2 separate regions of the Homo sapiens genome follow, and region 2 is linked to region 1. Evidence: promoter capture Hi-C in human tissues and cell types (Jung and others, 2019). All regions are on one chromosome and are shown on one strand. The core of a region is centred on a gene start or on the middle of the fragment in contact, and the rest is flanking DNA. Distances in the headings are between cores, read along the strand shown.

The links. Contacts are between HindIII fragments. The study calls those that stand out against the background at their distance.
Region 2: a contact is called between a fragment that was not itself captured here and the fragment with the promoter of BCL7B in region 1, in 1 of the 25 tissues and cell types used here (aorta).

The regions. Positions count from the first base shown.
Region 1 is chr7:73,555,485-73,559,595 of GRCh38, reverse strand. BCL7B (BAF chromatin remodeling complex subunit BCL7B) reads left to right here and starts at 1,906. Exons shown (of 6, transcript NM_001707.4): 1 at 1,906-2,109. The coding sequence starts at 2,018. RefSeq lists silencers at 1,631-1,870, 1,921-2,030, 2,051-2,100, 2,121-2,570. The HindIII fragment of the contact is 6,991 bases long and covers 1-4,111 here.
Region 2 is chr7:74,186,726-74,190,836 of GRCh38, reverse strand. It overlaps EIF4H (eukaryotic translation initiation factor 4H), which reads right to left. Exons shown (of 7, transcript NM_022170.2): 2 at 3,039-3,226; 3 at 1,100-1,164; 4 at 919-1,015; 5 at 531-590. Among named protein-coding and RNA genes, the nearest start is that of MIR590, 2.4 kb to the left of the region's middle. The HindIII fragment of the contact is 6,566 bases long and covers 1-4,111 here.

The sequences.
Region 1 (4,111 bases), core at 657-3,156:
TAGAGATGGGGTTTTGCCACGTTGGACAGGCTGATCTCAAACTCCTGACCTCAAATGATCCACCCACCTTGGCCTCCCAAAGTGCTGGGATTACAGGCGTGAGCCACCATGCTCCGCCTAGGCTAGCATTTATCAAATAGCATTTTAAATATGCTTTGGGAAGCTGGACCCAGTGACTCACGTCTGCAATCCCAGCACTGTGGGAGGCCGAGGAAGGAGGATCAATTGAGTCCAGGTGTTCAAGACCAACCTGGGCAACATAGGAAGACCCTGTCTCTACCAAAAAAAAAAAAAAAAAAATGTCAGCGAGGCATGGTGGCCCTCGCCTGTGGTCTCAGCTACACAGGAGGCTGAGGCAGAAGGATCACTTGAGCAAGGCCCTGTACCAAAAAATAAGTAAAAGTAAAAAATAAATATTTTTTTTTCGTCTGAATGTTCTACTAAACTGGAAGCTCAGCCAGTCACAGTGGCTCATGCCTGTAATCCCAGCACTTTGTGAGGATCCCTTGAGACCAGGAGTTCAAGACCAGCCTGGACAACATAGTGAGATCCCCTCTCCACATGAATAAATAAACTGGGCCGGGTGCGGTGGCTCACGCCTGTAATCCCAGTACTTTGGGAGGCCGAGGCAGGTGGATCACGAGGTCAGGAGTTCAAGACCAGCCTGACCAACATGGTGAAACCCCATCTCCACTAAAAATAAAAAAATTAGCTGGGTGTGATGGCGGACGACTATAATCCCAGCTACTCGGAAGGCTGAGACAGAAAATTGCTTGAACCCGGGAGGCGGAGATTGTAGTGAGCCGAGATCACACCACTGTACTCCAGCCTGGGCAAAAGAGCGAGACTCCGTCTCAAAAAAAAAAAGGCCAGGCGTGGTGGCTCACGCCTGTAATCCCAGCACTTTGAGAGGCCAAGGCGGGCAGATCACGAGGTCAGGAGTTCCAGACCAGCCTGACCAACATGATAAAACCCCGTCTCTACTAAAATTACAAAAATTAGCTGGGCGTGGTGGCACCCGCCTGTAATCCCAGCTACTCAGGAGGCTGAGGCAGAAGAACCGCTTGAACCCGGGAGGCGGAGGTTGCAGTGAGCGGAGATCACACCACTGCACTCCAGCCTGAGTCACAGAGCGAGACTCCGTCTCAATAAATAAACAAACTGGAAGCTCTTTGAAACCAAAACCACGTATGTCTTCAGCTTTAGGTACAGAGTCTTGCACAAAATAGACATCTTTTTATTTATTTACTTTAGAGACGGGGTCTCGTTTAGACATGGGGTCTCCATATGTTGCCCAGGCTGGAGTGCAGTGGCTATTCACAGGTGCGATCATATCATAGCTGACGGCAGCCTCAAATTCCTGGGGTCAAGTGATCCTCCCGCTTCAGCCTCCCAAATACTTGGGACTACTAGATACTCGAGAAAAGGCAAGAATGTGGTCTGAATGCTGGGAAAGCAGTTCATCTGGTAAAGAGAGGAGGGGATTCCAGGTGAGGAACAGGTGTGTGCAAAGACCGGAAGCCATCCTTAAGAAAGGCGTGGTTGGAGCACAGCGTAGGAGCCAGAGGGCAAAGGTGCTGGGCAGGAGAGGCGGGAGGACAGAGATGGCGCAGGAGTGCGGTTCCACAGGGTCAGGTTCCTAACACGCTGGCCAGAGCAGGGAGCCGACCTCCAAACTCTCAGGGAAGAGAACCAGGTTGCCCACCGGCGGCACCTCGCACCTCGCCCTGACCACAAGCACGTGCGCCCAACCCGCCTCGCACCCCGGCCCGGGTAGGGGGCTCAGGGGACTCCCGGGGCACTCAGGAGGGACGCCCCGGGCGGGGCGCGCAGGCGCGCTGAGGCCGTGAGCCCCAAGGGGCGGGCGGGTGCGCGCGCTTTCTCGCGCACGCGCGCACGGAGGGGGCGACGGCCGCTGTGACGCTGCGGCGGCGGCGGGCGGGCGGCGGCGCGTGAGGCGCGCGATCCCCGGTGTCTTGGGAGCAGTGCCCCGGCCCCCGCCGCTCCCGCCGCCGCCATGTCGGGCCGGTCGGTCCGGGCGGAGACCCGCAGCCGGGCCAAGGACGACATCAAGAAGGTGATGGCGGCCATCGAGAAAGTGCGGAAATGGTGAGGGGCCGGAGCTTAGGGGGCTGGCGGGGGTCGCGGATCCAGGCCCTGAGGAGCGTGGGACTGGCGGGTCAGGTGGGAGCCGACCGGCCGGCGCTGGGGGAGGGGGGTGCGGGAGAAGGCGGGAGGAGGGCGCCGCTGGCGTCGGCGTGAGGTCAGAGGGCGCGCCGGCCGCGGCCAATCAGCGGTCCTCCCGGCTCGCGGGCCCGCCCACCTGCTGCGGCTGCTGCCGCGCGCCGCCTGGGAGGGGATTCCGGCTTCCGGCCCGGACTGGAGCTGCCTGGCGTCGGTGCCCGCGCCCGGCCCAGCCCGGGGCCCGCCCTCCCCTCTTCCTGGGCAGTGGCCCCGCCTGCGTTTCCAGGCTTCCTCTTGATAATAGCGAGTAGCCCTGGAGTGGTGTCAGCCCGCCAGGCTGAGCGCTCTGCGTATTCAGGCGTTGAAGTTGGGTGAGTTTCTGGGTTAGTCCATCTGTCAAGGGAGCAAGCCTGGTGTCATCCAGAGGGATACCCCTCCCTTTCCCCCAGTAACCGGCCCCTGCGCCGCGAGCTTGGTAGGCATTTTCTCTTGCTGCCCCGGCGGCTGTCAGGAGAGTCCTTTGCAAACTATGTACCAGCCTCCCTCTAATTTCCCTGCTTCTGCTCTTGTTCATTCCCCAGTCCGTTCATCATTTGCACTGTGTGATTTTATTTTTCTCACTTCCAAGTAGCAGAGTGGTCTTTTTAAAGTGCACATCCTTACTTGGGAGGCTGTGGTGGGAGGATTGCTGGGACCCAGGAGTTGGAGGCTGCAGTGAGCTATGATCGTGCCACGGCACTCCAGCCTGGGCTACGGAGAGAGACCCCGTGTCTAAAATGTTCATGGAAGATGCCGATTGAGCCCCTGTTTAGTATCCGGAACTCCGATACATACTATATCGGTGTGTATCGGAGTCATCACATTAAACTTTCACAGCCAACTTCGTCAGCTCTTTTGTATAGCCAATTACTACTAATAATTTAAAAACCCAGGTCTGGCTAGGTGAGGTGGCTCAGGCATGTAATCCCAGCACTTTGGGAGGCTGAGGTGGGCGGATCGCTTGAGGCCAGGAGTTTGAGACCAGCCTGGGCAACATAGTGAGACCCCGTCTCTACAGAAAATAAAAGTTCAAGTAGATGTTACCTCCCGCCAGGAAGCTTTCCTTAACTCCTCCCATCCCTTTACCTCCTTTAAGGTCGTTGGTACGTTGGACTTTATTTGTGTGTTTATCTGTCCATTTCCCCACAAGAGGGAAGTTCCTTCTCTTTTTTATGTCTGAGGGCTTCATATATAGTTGGGTTTCAGTATAAATATTAGTTTAACATACTCATGGTTTTCCTCGTCCACCTTTAATCCTCCGAGGTTTTGGTGAAACCTAAGAACAGGTACACCTTTCTCTTCTCCCCATTTTTGACCCCCCCGCCCCTAGCAGGCTAGGCTGAAGGGCCATCCCCTGTCACCTGGAACTCTGTACCAGCCTCCCTGTAAACTCTCTGCTTCTGCTCTTGCTCATTCCCCAGTCTGTTCATTTGCACTGAGTGATTTTATTTTTCTCTCTTCCGAGTAGCGGAGTGACCTTTTTAAAGTGCACAGCCTTATTTGGAAGGCTGTGGTGGGAGGATCGCTGGAGCCCAGGAGTTGAGGCTGCAGTGAACTATGATCATGCCATGGCACTCCAGCCTGGGCAACACAGTGAGACCCCATCTGTAAAAAAATATATAAAATGTGCATCTTATCCTAGCACCCCTAGTAATGCTTCAGTGGTTCCCTTCTTGCTTTTAGGATAAATACTGAAGAAGGCCCTCCTTCCTGCCTCACTTGGCTGGCTCTTTCCCAGGATGCCCGCTGTCTTACCAATGAAGTCACTCTGCTCTTCCTGCCGCCTGGCATTCTTCTTCCTCTCTCCTCTCCTCCCTCTTGCCGAGTTAACTCCTAGCTCAGCTCAAAAGTTGCTTCCTTAGGTTTACCACTTGAGATTCCCAATCTA
Region 2 (4,111 bases), core at 263-2,762, 630 kb before region 1:
CGTGTGGACTGATGCTTTGTGCTATACCACCAGCTGCTCTGCCTGGGTTGGCTAAGAAAGAGAACGGCGAAGTGCATCAGGTCCACCATCAAGGGACTGGACCTCCCCACAATCCTCCAAGAAAAAAAAGGGCCATCAGGACTACCTTTCACCATGTAAGAACCCAAACCTCTATCCTATGTTTTCCAGAAGGAACAGTACTTCTCTTGGTGCCATACACAAAACCACAGAGGAGTTTCCCTGGGCTAGAGTCTGAGAAAGACTGCTGAGCGAGCTCAAGGACCCAGGCCCGTACACATCCAAGGAGCTGCAGGCTAACAAAGGTGACCACACAAGGTGCATGGGGCTCAAGTCCTGCCCCCACAGGCTCTAACAGAGGCTTACTTGCATGCCTGGGCACCCTGCAGGAGAGTTGTATTTGTTAAAGGAACTAAATAAGTAGTCCGGCCAGGCGGGCTACTCGTAAGAAACAGAGAACAGCAGCAAGGCTCCTAGGAAAAATTAAGTGGTGATACTTTAAATACTGATACCAGAATTGAAGTCATCCCGGGAATCCCATCCACCTCTAGATTCTCGAGAGCTACCCATTCCTGAGGATACACAAAAAAGATAAAGTTGAGGTCGTGTCATTACCTTGCTGCGCAAACATGGAAAAATTCATTTGGAAGACATACAACTCAAGTGATGGAAGGTTCAATGAAATCATTTTAAGAGCTTTTGCTTCCAACAGAAAACAAAAAACGCCAGGCTTGCAGAAGCATCAGCCATTCTTTCTAGGATTTTACGCAAACTTTTAAGAGCTCACGAGAACCTATCACACCTATGAGATAATCGAGTTCTACTAGGAACGTTCACGAGTTGGAATTGGTAGGCATACTGCAAATCTTTATGATGTTCAGCTTTAGAAGAACCAATCACCTCTGTCATCTGGTCCACCTTTTCTGAATCCAAAGCCACCTTTATCTTGTTTTCTGCCTTCTGCAATGTCCACACGAAGTGACCGATCGCCCAACAGCTAATGATAAAGGGAAAATAGTGTAAGTATTGGCAAAGAAAACAATCTCAACTGCTATGACAGAGAAAACCCGAGGATACTTACTGCACCATCGTATGTCAAGGCTTCCTTAAGGGAATCCACTTCATCGAATTCTACATAGCAGAATCCTGGAAAAGAAAAGAAGACCCCGATTTCCTCAAGTAATTCTGGGTTAAAGATGTGGGAAGATCCTATTCATACTACTTCTCCACGTCACAACTACCATTCTGTTGTCTAGATGATGGCAGACTAGGAGAGCCTTTCAATAGATAGAACCCTGACTGGCATTCCTCCCTCTCAATTCTATTTTATCAGTCAGAAAATGCTAACTGAACATGCACTGAAATAGCAGCTGCGTTTCTAGAAAGCTTTCTTCTTGAATGTTTTAACCATAATATTCAAACCTTTCTCAGGCCATCTGCAGAGCTCTTCTGACTTCTGAATGACTATTTAATCTAAGTGAGGATTAGATTTCGTAGATTTCAAACTTGGTACCTAAAATGCTCTGAAGAAAGAGGCTTAAAGTGCCGATTTAACTTACTACTCAGGTAACTGACATAAAATTTGCTTCACAAAGCTGAAAATATATCCTTGGCAATCAGGGCATTCTTCTCTGAATGTTAATTAAAAGACAGGCAGCCTGGGTCCAAGTACCTGTTACTGACAACCTGTGTCCCTGATGCCAGGGGTCTGACATTGCCCCTTCCTTGCTGTCTGGAGTCTAAATCTAGTTCATTACTCCCCAGATGCTGGCACTACACCCTGCATCCCCTCTCCCCCAGCGTCCTTGCCCTGTGTATAATAACTTAATAATCACACTTCATCTTTGAAGCCCACTAGACCGCAAGTGCTCTAAAGGCCTGAGTCCAAACTTTCCCTGTTTACCAACTGTGTGTTAAGAACATACTGCCTTGGCTGGAGGGATGTCCCCCCAGGTTTCCTCCCTAAGTGGATTCAATGTTGAGAATAATGGAGAAAACTACCCCCAACTTCACAGAAGCAACAGACACCCAATCTCATCTTCTAGAGCTGCTCAAATGAAGATGGTCCTTCATGAGCCAAACTCCAAAGCCTGCAGCGACTGACCCAGCCCAAAGGCTAGGCTCACCCACACACTCCAACCCAAAGTTTAGTTCCTAATGCTTCCTGGAGCTTACTTCACAAGTGTAACTGATATATTTGTTTTCACTGTTTGATTACACACTACATGTGGCTTCAGATTCTGAAGTCAAAAAGAGTAAGAGTGCCACCGACACACAAAACCACCCAGGTCAGCAAGGCCTTCTCGACTGCTGGCACAGCTCCCCGCCCCAAGTTACCCCATACTTGTCACAGATGTGCTTTTGGGTGGATTATGCGGGCCAAACATCCTGGGTCCTAGCATCGTGCACTTACACAGCAGGCACACTTCCTTCAGGAAGCCCTGCAGGCAGGAGAATGCTGCTCGGATCCCTTCTTCTTCCTGCTCTTTGCTCCCGCACCCTGCAGACACACGACCTATAGACACCATATCTGAAATCTCAGCCAGCCCTCCCAAGCACACTCTCCAAATTTACAAATGCATACTGACAGCACTGGCTGCTTCTCTTCTGGGTTTTATGATTACTGGATGACAGTACCATATGATTACTGGATTAACTACCAAGGAAAATCTACGAGTCATTCCAGGAGGAATGTGCCTAAGAGTCCTCGGCTCTATTCCTCTCTCTCCTGGGGAACTCCTTTACTGGCAGACAGGACTGCTGTAGAGGTCAGGCTCACAAACCTGGGCATATGCCATGTATTTCTATGAACTACACTGTGTACAAAACATTTTCCCCTAAGTGAACTGAAGACCTATGAGTTGAAGAGTTATGTTTCTTTCGGCCACTTAGACCAGGCAAATGTTTAAAACACTTTCTTGATTACAGCCTCTGGTTCACAAATCTATTTTTATTTAGAACCCCTTCCCATCCTCCCCTACACTTTACAGTAATATACAATAAGAATCCCCCAAACTCACCTTTAAATTTATCTGTGTCTTTGTCTCTGACTAGCCGTACACTCCTTATGCTGAGATCCTTAAAGATAGCATCTATGTCGCCCTGAACCGTATTGAAAGGTAGATTTCCTACGTATGCTGTGTAGGGGGGCTCTGTGGGCAACTCCTTCTGGCTACGGGAACCATGGCCACCAGCACTGCCGCGGGACCTAGGAGGGGAGACAAACAGGATTCAAGTGTGCCCAGAGTGGAATAAGCAAAACAAGTAAAGCGGTCTTCCGCTGAGCTACGCCGCCAGCGCCCCAGGTGAGGCACTCTGCTCGATGTACCACAAGACTGTTACAGAGAATGGCTGGAGAAACAAAAAAAAAGGAAAAGAAAAATTTTTTGAGACAGACTGTCACTCTGTCACCCAGGCTGGAGTGCAGTGGCACAATCTTGGCTCACTGGAACCTCTGCTTCCCGGGTTCAAGAGATTCTCCTGTCTCAGCCTCCTAAGGATGCTGAGATTACAGGCATGTGCCACCACACCTGGCTAATTTGTGCATTTTTAGTAGAAACAGGGTTTCACCATGTTGGCCAGGCTGGTCTCCAACTTCTGACCTCAGGTGGTCTGCCTGCCTCACCCTCCCAAAGTGCTGGGATTACAGGTGTGAGCCACCATGCCCAGCCCAAACGTAACACACCTTCCTAAGACAACTGCTTCTCTCCTATTCACTCAGAATCTGTATCTGCAGTATTTACATCCTAAAACCTAAGCAAGTACCCTCCTTCACACACCGTGGTTCTAAGAAATACAGAAATGGACAGTCTAGAAGTAATGTTGTATTCAGAAGAAGGATTACTGAAGTTGTTTACGTTTAACACATTCATACATAATAGAATTATTTCTCCTACCGCTTGAACCTGGGAAGCGGAGGCTGCAGTGAGCCAAGATCGCACCACTGCACTTCAGCTCACGCGACAGAGACTCCGTCTCAAAAAAAAAAAAAAAAAAAAAAAAAAAAAAAAAAAAAAAAAAAAAAAAAAAATTTCTCCTTGTTGCCTGATTATGGGCATAAGAATGTCCTAATAAAAATTTTAGATGTCACACA